Regions from separate parts of the Homo sapiens genome. Here region 1 is linked to region 2. The links are contacts of gene promoters, found by promoter capture Hi-C in human tissues and cell types (Jung and others, 2019). All regions are on one chromosome and are shown on one strand. Each heading gives the region's core, a stretch centred on a gene start or on the middle of the fragment in contact. The rest is flanking DNA. Distances are from core to core; before and after follow the strand shown. Region 1 overlaps LOC124902489 (a long non-coding RNA gene). Region 2 holds the start of CNNM1 (cyclin and CBS domain divalent metal cation transport mediator 1).

What was found. Contacts are between HindIII fragments. The study calls those that stand out against the background at their distance.
Region 1: a contact is called between a fragment that was not itself captured here and the fragment with the promoter of CNNM1 in region 2, in 1 of the 25 tissues and cell types used here (mesenchymal stem cells).

The regions. Positions count from the first base shown.
Region 1 is chr10:98,278,007-98,282,708 of GRCh38, reverse strand. It overlaps LOC124902489 (a long non-coding RNA gene), which reads right to left. Exons shown (of 2, transcript XR_007062260.1): 2 at 2,428-4,702. Among named protein-coding and RNA genes, the nearest start is that of LOXL4, 12 kb to the right of the region's middle. The HindIII fragment of the contact is 6,301 bases long and covers 1-4,702 here.
Region 2 is chr10:99,327,098-99,331,618 of GRCh38, reverse strand. It overlaps CNNM1 (cyclin and CBS domain divalent metal cation transport mediator 1), which reads right to left and starts at 2,263. Exons shown (of 11, transcript NM_020348.3): 1 at 659-2,263. The coding sequence starts at 2,231. The HindIII fragment of the contact is 11,915 bases long and covers 1-4,521 here.

The DNA.
Region 1 (4,702 bases), core at 569-3,068, 1.0 Mb after region 2:
AACAAAAACCTGCTCTCTCCAGCTAAAATATCAGGAAAAGGGCAGGTTAGCAAGACAGAAAATGTTCAGATAATGACTGCTCTACTCTAGCCAGACATCACAGAAAAAACTATGGCTCTGTCCCCTACCCCCATCCCTGGCCAACACACATGTACACACACAGAAACACACACACACACACACACACACACACCAGCAAAGATCAGGCAATGAGTCTGGACCTCCATTCTTTCCCAGCTATAACAGGCACCCAGTCCCTCCACCATGGTGGTATCAGAAAAGGTTGAGTAGGGAGCTGGGACTTCCATTCCCAGCAGGCAGTAATGAGCCTCTCCCCACCATTGATACCCTTGATAGTATCAGTGGAGCCTAATTTCCACTCCTAATCAGCAGCAATAAGGCAGTCCTTCCCCTCCTCACCAGGGTGGTGTCAGATAAGGTCTAATGGAGGGTCAGGACCTTCACTACCACCCAGTAAAAATGAGGCCACCCCCTTCCTGTGGGGTCAGTGAAGGCCATGTAAGGAATAGTGACAAGAACTCCTACTCATCCTAGCCAAGGAAGTGTCAGGGAAAGCATAGTAGAAAGCCAACCAGCCATTCCTACCCAGGAGTAATGAGAAGCTCTCCCCCTCATGGGTCAAGGGAGGCTGGATGGGGAACCTGGACTTCTACCTCCACCTAGCAGTAACAAATGATGCCACTCTTCCCCTGATGGAGCAGTATCAGAGAAAGCCAGTTAAAATAAAAGGTTTAAACAATATCCAAAGTGTCCTAACACCCAAAATGTCTAGGTTTTGATGAAAAATCACTCATCATGCTGAGAACCATGAAGCTCTCCAACTAAATGAAAAGGACCATCAGGAGATACTAACACTGAAATATCACAGATGTTAGAATTTTCTGACAAAGATTTTAAAGCAGCCATCATAAAAATGTCTCAACAAATGATTACAAACACAGTTGAAACAAATAAAAAAAGAAAAACAGTCTTAGCAAAGAAATAAAAAGCCTCAGAGGAGGAAAAATAGAAAATATAAAGAAGAACCAAAAGGAAATTTTAGAACATAAAAATACAATAACCAAAATTTGAAATCTCAATGGATGAGCTTGAGAACAGTATATAGGAGACAAAGGAAAGAATCAATGCATTAAGAGATAGAGAAATAGATATTAACTAATCTAAACAATATACAGAAGATAGACTTAAAAAAAAAGAAGAAGAAGAATGAGCAAATCCTCAGGGAACTGTAGGACTATAACAAAAGATCTAACATTCACCATTCTTGCCATCAGACTCCTGGAAGCAGAGGGGAAAACAGGGCCAGAAAAAGCATTTAAAGAAATAGTTGCTGAAAATTTTCTTAATTTGGCAAAATACGTAAACCTCTAAATTCAAGAAGATGAATAAATCCCAAATAGGATAAAGCCAAGTATCTCCATACCAAGATACATCATAGTCAGTGTTCTGAAAACCAAAAACAAGGAAAATTATTGAAAGCAATGAGAGAGAAATGATACCTTACCTATAGGGGACAACAATTTGAATGACAAAGGATTTTCCATCAGAAATCATGGAGGCCGGTAAGAAATGGCACATTCTCAAGACAGAAAATAACTAAAAGAAAAAACTGTCAACCCCAAATTCTATATCAGTCAAAAAAGTCCTTCAGGAATGGAGGGGTAATCAAGATATTTTCAAGTGAAGTAAAACAGAGAATTTGTTGCCAGGGGACCTATCCTAAAAGAATGGCTAGGAGTTATTTTCTAAACAGGGAGGAAATAATAAAAAGAAGAAATGTTGGAATGTCAGAAAGAAAGAAAAAGAAACAGAAAAGTAAAGAGATGAATAAATACCCATTTTCCTTCTGTTCTTGAGCACATCCATTGAGATTTCAAATTTTGATTACTGTATTTTTATGTTCTGAAATTTCCTTTTGGTTCTTCTTTATATTTTCTAATTTTTTCTCTGAAGCTTTTTATGTCTTTGCTAAGACTGTTTTCTTTTTCATTTGTTTCAACTGTGTAATCATTTGTTGAGACATTTTTATAATGGCTGCTTTAAAATCTTTGTCAGAAAATTCTAACATCTGTGATATTTCAGTGTTGCTCTCCCTATACATAACTAGTTGACTAGTTGACTCCCTATATATAACAATATAGAGAGGTTAAAAGTAAATGATAGAAAAAGACATATCATGCAAGCATTAATCAAAAGAAAACAGGAGAGGCTATGTTATAATCAGATACAGTATATTTCAGAGCAAAGATAATGACCAAACACAGACAGGGACATTACATAGTAATAAAAGGGTCAATCCACTAAAAAGACACAGCAGTCCTAAATATGTATGTGCAGACCACAGACCTGAAAAATACATAAGGCAAAAACTGACAGAACTGAAATAAAAAATAAATAAATCCACAATTATAGTTGGAAACATTAACATTCCTCTTTTAATAATTGATAGAACAACTAGACAGCAAATCAACAGGATATAGAATTCAACAACACCATCAGCCAATAAGATCCAATTGACATTTTTAGAACACTTCACCCAACAACCCAATAACAGCAGAATACACATTATTTTCTTTTTATGTCACGCATTTTTTTCCATAGGTTATTGGTGAACAGGTGATGTTTGGTTACATGAGTAAGTTCTTTAGCTGTGATTTGTGAGATTTTGGTGCATCTATCACCTAAGCAGTATACACTGCTCTCTATTTGTAGTCTTTTATCCTTCACTCCCTTGCCACGCTTTCCCCCTGAGTCCCCAAAGTTCATTGTGTCATTCTTATGCCTTTGCATCCTCATAAGCTTAGCTCCCACTTACAAGTGAGAACATACAATGTTTGGTTTTCCATTTCTGAGTTACTTCATAATAGTCTCCAGTCTCATCCAGGTTGCTGTGAATGCCATTAACTCATTACTGTTTACAGTTAAGTAGTATTCCATCATATATATATATATATATATATATATATATATATATATATATATATATATATACACACACCACAGTTTCTCTAACCTCTTGCTGATCGACGGCCATTTGGGTTGGTTCCAGGTTTTTGCAATTGTGAATTGTGCTGCTATAAACATGTGTGTGCAAGTGTCTTTTTCGTATAATGACTCCTTTTCCTCTGGGTAGATACCCAGTAGTTGGATTGCTGGATCGAATGGTAATTCTACTTTTAGTTCTTTAAGGAATCTCCACACTGTTTTCCATAGTGGTTGTACTAGTTTACATTCCCACCAGCAGAGAATACACATTATTTTCAAGTGTCCCTGGAAAGTATACCAAGTTAGACCGTGTCCTGGACCATAAAACAAACCTAACAGGCTGGGCACGGGGCTCATGCCTGTAATCCCAGCACTTTGGGAGGTCGAGGCAGGCAGATCACGAGGTCAGGAAATCGAGACCATCCTGGCCAACATGGTGAAACCTCGTCTCTACTAAAATACAAAAAATTAGCTGGGCATGGTGGCGTGCACCTGTAGTCCCAGCTACTCGGGAGGCTGAGGCAGGGGAATCGCTTGAACCCAGGAGGTGGAGGTGGCAGTGAGCCAAGATCACACCACACTGCACTCCAGCCTGGTAACAGAGCAAGACTCTGTCTCAAAAACAAAAAACAAACAAAACAAAACAAAACAAAACAAAAACCTAAACAAATTTAAAATAATTTAAATCATACAGAGTGTGTTATCTGACCACAATGGAATCAAATAGAAATCAATAAAAGAAATATAACTAAAAAACATCCAAACACTTGGAAATTAAACAACAAACTTCTAAATAATTCATGCATCACAGAAGAAATCTCAAGGGAAATTTTAAAATGCTTTGAAAATGAAAATACAACATATCAAAACTTGTGAGATAGAGATAAAGCAGTGTTGAAAGGAGAATGTATAGCACTAAATACTTACATTAAAAAGGAGGGAAAGTCTCAAATTAATCATCTAATTTCCCACTTTAAGCACCTAAAAACACAAAATAAACAATAAACACAGTTTTAACAGAAGAATGAAATAATAAAGATAGGAGCAGAAATCAGTGAAATTGAAAACAAAAACAATAGAGAAAATCAATAAAACAAAAAGCCAATTCTTCCAAAACATCAGTAAAATTGACAGTCCTCTATCAAGACTGACAAAGAAAAAGAGAGAAGACGCAAATTACTGGTATCAGGAATGAAGTAAGGGATATAACTAAAGACCCTGCACGCATCAAAAGGATAATGAAAGAGTGCTATAAATAACCCTACAGACATAAATTTGACAACTGAAGTGAAATGGACCTGCAGGTAACATCCATATATAATGGTCAAAGACTGAAAGCTTTTCCCTTAAGATTGAGAGCAAGATGGGGACGTTCGCTGTCCTTCCTTCTCATCTTTATACTTGAGGGCCTGGAAAGTGCAATCAGGCAAGGAAAAGACATGAAAGGCACATTAGTGGGAAAAGTGAAATAAAACTGTTTCTAGTCACAGATAACACGCTTTTCTATGTAGAAAAGTCCAAGGAAAATACGAGTTACTAGAAATGAATTTAGCAATTTCACAGAAAATATACAGTCAATACAAAAGAAATCGATTGTATTTTTAGGTACTAGCAATAACCAATCAGAAATTTTTAAAAATTTTAAGCACCATTTACAATATTACCAAAATATGTAATACTCAGGCATAAGTCTAAA
Region 2 (4,521 bases), core at 1,014-3,513:
CTGGGATTAGAAGCATGAGCCGCCGCGCCCGGCCCTGGACCTGAGTACTTGATATGTGTGCAATCAATACCTGATGGGAAATTAAGTATGGGGAAGAACGTCTAAGGTGTCTGGGTTTAGTCTACATGATTCAAAAGGCAGAAGAGGTAGAAGGATTTGGAGACACAAATTCTGCTCTATATGAGGAAACATTGTCAGCCACTGGAGCTGTCCAGCAATGGAATTAGTTTGCTCTGTAAATAGTGAGCTTTCGGCCCTGGGAGGAGTTTAAAGCAAAGGCTGCTTGTATGGGAACCTGCAGAGGTGTCTCCTGTAATAGGTGGGGAGCTATGCAATGACCTTCAAGGGCTATCTCCCACCTACACAGTATCTGACATTTGGTAGGCCTTGGAAAAACCTGGTAGAATGGAACAAATAAGGAATATGGTGCATCTTGTGAATCAAGTAGAGAGGAAAGAGGCCTGGGGCTCAATCAGGAGCAAGAAGTGAGGCAGAAGTGAGATGAAAATAGCCAGGGAGCCAAGAGGTAGAGTCTTCCTTGGGTTTTTAGTACCATAGGAGAGAAATTGCTTTGGGTACCTAGAGCCTCACGTGGTTAGGAAAGGATAATACCTTTGAAGGGGATAGGAGTTGGGGGAGAAGATAGACTACTGCTCACCCTTCTTAAACTCCTCCAGAACCGTGTCCAGTCGGGTGTCATTGAAAACACAATGCAGGGGCCGGTTGTAGAAGCGGGTGACAGTGAGGAGCGGGGTGCAGTCGTCGGGGTCCACGAAGGCCAAGTCCTTGACAAATAAAATGTCCACAATGTTGTGCCGCTGGTCACCCTCGTACACTGGGATGCGAGTGTAGCCGCTGCGCAGGATCTCGGAGACAGTGGCGAAGTCGAGCACCGCGTCTGAGCGCAGCATGAAGCAGTCTCCCAGGGGGGTCAGCACCTCCTCCACAACTTTGGTGCGCAGCTCCAGGGCACCCTGTATGATGTTGAGCTCCTCCTTCACCAGGTCACTGTAGGGGTCTGCGGCCCGCAACGTCTCCAGCAACTTCTCCCGCGTGTAGAAGGTGCTTATCTCCTGGCGCAGCGCCCAGTCCAGCAGGCGGCCCAGCGGGTAGCACACGGGGAAGGCGGCTGCCATCAGAAGCCGGGTCAGGCACACGCTGTGCGAGGCGATGGCCAGCCCGTGCCGCGAACACACTGAGTAGGGGCAGATTTCGGCGCCCAGGAATACCGCGCCGGTGCACACGAGCGCCGGCAGCCACGGGAAGTGGATCCCCTCTTCGCTGTAGTCTTCCCCGGTGCCCCCGAAGCCCGGCGGCAGCGAGGTGTACAGCCAGCCAGCCAGGGCCGCGTTGGCTCCGGCTTGGCCCAGGAGTAGGGTGCAGAGCAGATGGGTCCCCCTGCCGCGAACGGCCTGCACGCGGCGCGCCTGCTCCTGCTCGGCGGCCGAGCCGCTGTTCCGCAGCACCCGTAACTCCACCGGGTCCAGCGACAGCAGGCTCAGGCGCAGGCCGCTGAACAGGGCCGACAAGGCTAGCAGCAGGAGCGCCCCGAGCGCCCGCAGCCACGCAGGGGGCAGCAGGTCCCCGCCTGGGCCGTACAACCGCGGGCGAACGCGCAGCAGGAAGCCGCCGGCGGCGCCGTGGTGGTGCCACGCGCGCCCATCCCAGGCGCAGAGTGAAAAGAGCTTCCCGCCACCGCCCGCGCCGCCCCGCTCCGCTTCGCCCTTGCGCAGCTCCCGCACTCGCACCTGGACCAGGGCCGAGCCTGCCACGCCCCCGGGACGCAAGGGCCCCAGGACTTCCACGTCCGATGCCCAGTCGCTCTGCTCCCTGCAGCGCTGCGGTCCCGGGGGGCGAGTGGGGACCGCGCTGGGGGCCACGCCGCCACCGCCCGGGGGCTCCTCGATGAACACGAGCCGCGGAGCCCAGTCGCCGGTGCCATTCTCCCCCGAGTTGAGGGTCGGTGAGGGCACCGGTGCGGCGGTGGCCGGCGGTCCTGGCTGGAAATAGACACGCAGGAGGAAGCTGGTGCCTTCGGCGGCGCGCAGGGTGCCCCCCTCCAGGGACACGCGGCCTCCAGCAGTGTCCTCGGGCCGCAGGCCCAGCAGCCAGGCGGCGGCGGCCGGGGGCCGAGGAGACAGGGAAAAGAAGAGCAGGAGCACAGCGCCTCGGCTGCAGCAGTCCCGGAGCCTGACACCCACCGCTGCTGCCGCCGCCGCGGCCGCCGCCATCCTGCACCCAGCGCAGCTGCACGTGATACTGCAGGAAGCCGAGCGAGAGCTGGAGGGAGGAGGAGCCGGAGCTGGGAACCCAGCCGCAGGCAGGTCACCACGTGTACGCCCACTGCGCGCGTGGGCTGGTGGCGGTGGGCATTCAGACTCCACCTGGGCAGGAGGTCCCCGCTGGAGGCTGGAGGTGGCCAGGCATCACCGCACTGTGCGTAGCGGGTACACACTTCGGTATATCTGAGATGCAGCCTGAAAAGTCTGGGTTTGCAGCATGGCCTCCTACTCCAAAAGTAAGGTGCTCCTCTGCGAACTCCTACCCGGCAGTAATTCCCTGCCGGCTCCACTGCTTCCCCATTGGCCCGGGAAATTTCCCAGCTTTTCGCTTCTCCTGCCACTTGCATTCCCCCTTCTGGTCAAAAGAATATTCTGGAGTCAAGTCTTGAATATGTGAAAACTTTTAGCCTCAACTCCAGCCGACCTTTCATTATTGTAAACATTTCTGGATTATTTAAGTTCAATTCTTAGTTAAGATCCGAATGTCCATCAATAAGAAACTGTTGAAATAAGTGAAACCACTGTGCAATGGAATACTATGCGGCAATAAAAAATAATGCGGTGGATCTGTTGTATATGTGATACGGAAAAAAATCTCCAAAGTAATTGTAGAAACAAAGTAAGGTGCAGAACAGCAAGTATAATATGCTACCATTTGTGTTAAAAGTATTTATGTATAAATTTGTACACACACACACACTTATATGAGATTTATTTATTTATTTATTTATTTTGAGATGGAGTCTTGCTCTGTCGCCCAGGGTGGAGTGCAGTGGCACAATTTTGGCTCACTGCAACCTCCACCTCCCGGGTTCAAGCGATTCTCCTACCTCAGCCTCCTGAGTAGCTGGGATTACAGGCGTGCGCCACCGCGCCCAGCTAATTTTTATATTTTTAGTAGAGATGGGGTCTCACCATGTTGGCCAAGCTGGTCTCGAATCCCTGACTTCAAATGATCCATCTGCCTCGGCCTCCCAGGGTGCTGGGATTACAGGCGTGAGCCACCGCGACCCGCCGTTTACATCTTTTAATTAATTTATTTATTTTGAGACGGAGTTTCGCTCTTGTCACCCAGGCTGACGTGCAATGGCGCGATCTCGGCTGACTGCAACCTCCGCTTTCCAGGTTCAAGCGATTCTCCTACCTCAGCCTCCTGAGTAGCTGGGATTACAGGCGCCCGCCATCACGCCCGGCTAATTTTTTTTTTTTTTTTTTTTGGTAGAGACGGGGTTTCACCACGTTGGCCAGGCTGGTCTCGAACTCCTGACCTCAGGTGATCCGCCTGCCTCGGCCTCGCAAAGTGCTGGGATTACAGGCATGAGCCACCGTGCCTGGCGGGTTACATCTTAATTATAGTACAATATCAAAAGCAGGAAGTTGATATTGGTGTAATGTGTGTATATAGTTCTCTATCATTTTATCACATGTATGGATGTATGTGACCATCACTGCACTCAAAATACAGATCTATTATCACCAAGATCTGGGAGGGAGACTTTCTTATTAAATTCCTTATATTGTTTGAATTTACTCGACTATATTATTTTTATGCATTTATTTTTAAACTTTATATAGTAAAATTCACTTTTTGGTGTACTGTTCTATGAATGTTGACAAATGCATATACATGTAAACATCACAATAAAAAGTAATTCCATCACCACCACCCCCCAAATTCTCTTACCGTCCTATTGTATGTAGTCAACCCCTCCCTTCGTCTTATCCTCTGGGAACTACTGATCTGTTCTCCCCTATAGTTTTCTTTTCCGGATTATCATATAAATGGAGAATACAGTCTGTAGCCTTTTGGGTTCTCCCTTCCTTTACTAAGTTAGCATAATGCATTTACGATTCATCTATGTTGTTGTGATTTTCAGTAGTTCATCCTTTTGTATGGCTGAGTAGCATTCCATTATATGGATGTGTCACTGTTTGTTTATCCATTCAATAAAGGATATTTAAGTTATTTCCAGTTTTTAGCAATTATTAATAAAGTGGCTATGAACATTTGTGTGATGGTTTTTGTGAGAACATAAATTTTTATTTCTCTTGGGTAAATTTATCATAAGTCTGTATTACATTTTAAAATATAGTAATCCTAACTACTTGGTAGGCTGAAGTGGGAGGATCTCTTGAGGCCAGGAGTTAGAGACCAGCCGGAACAATGTAGGGAGGCCCTGTCTCTAAAAAATTAAAAATTAAAAAAAATTAGCCAGGCATGGCGACACATGCCTGTAGT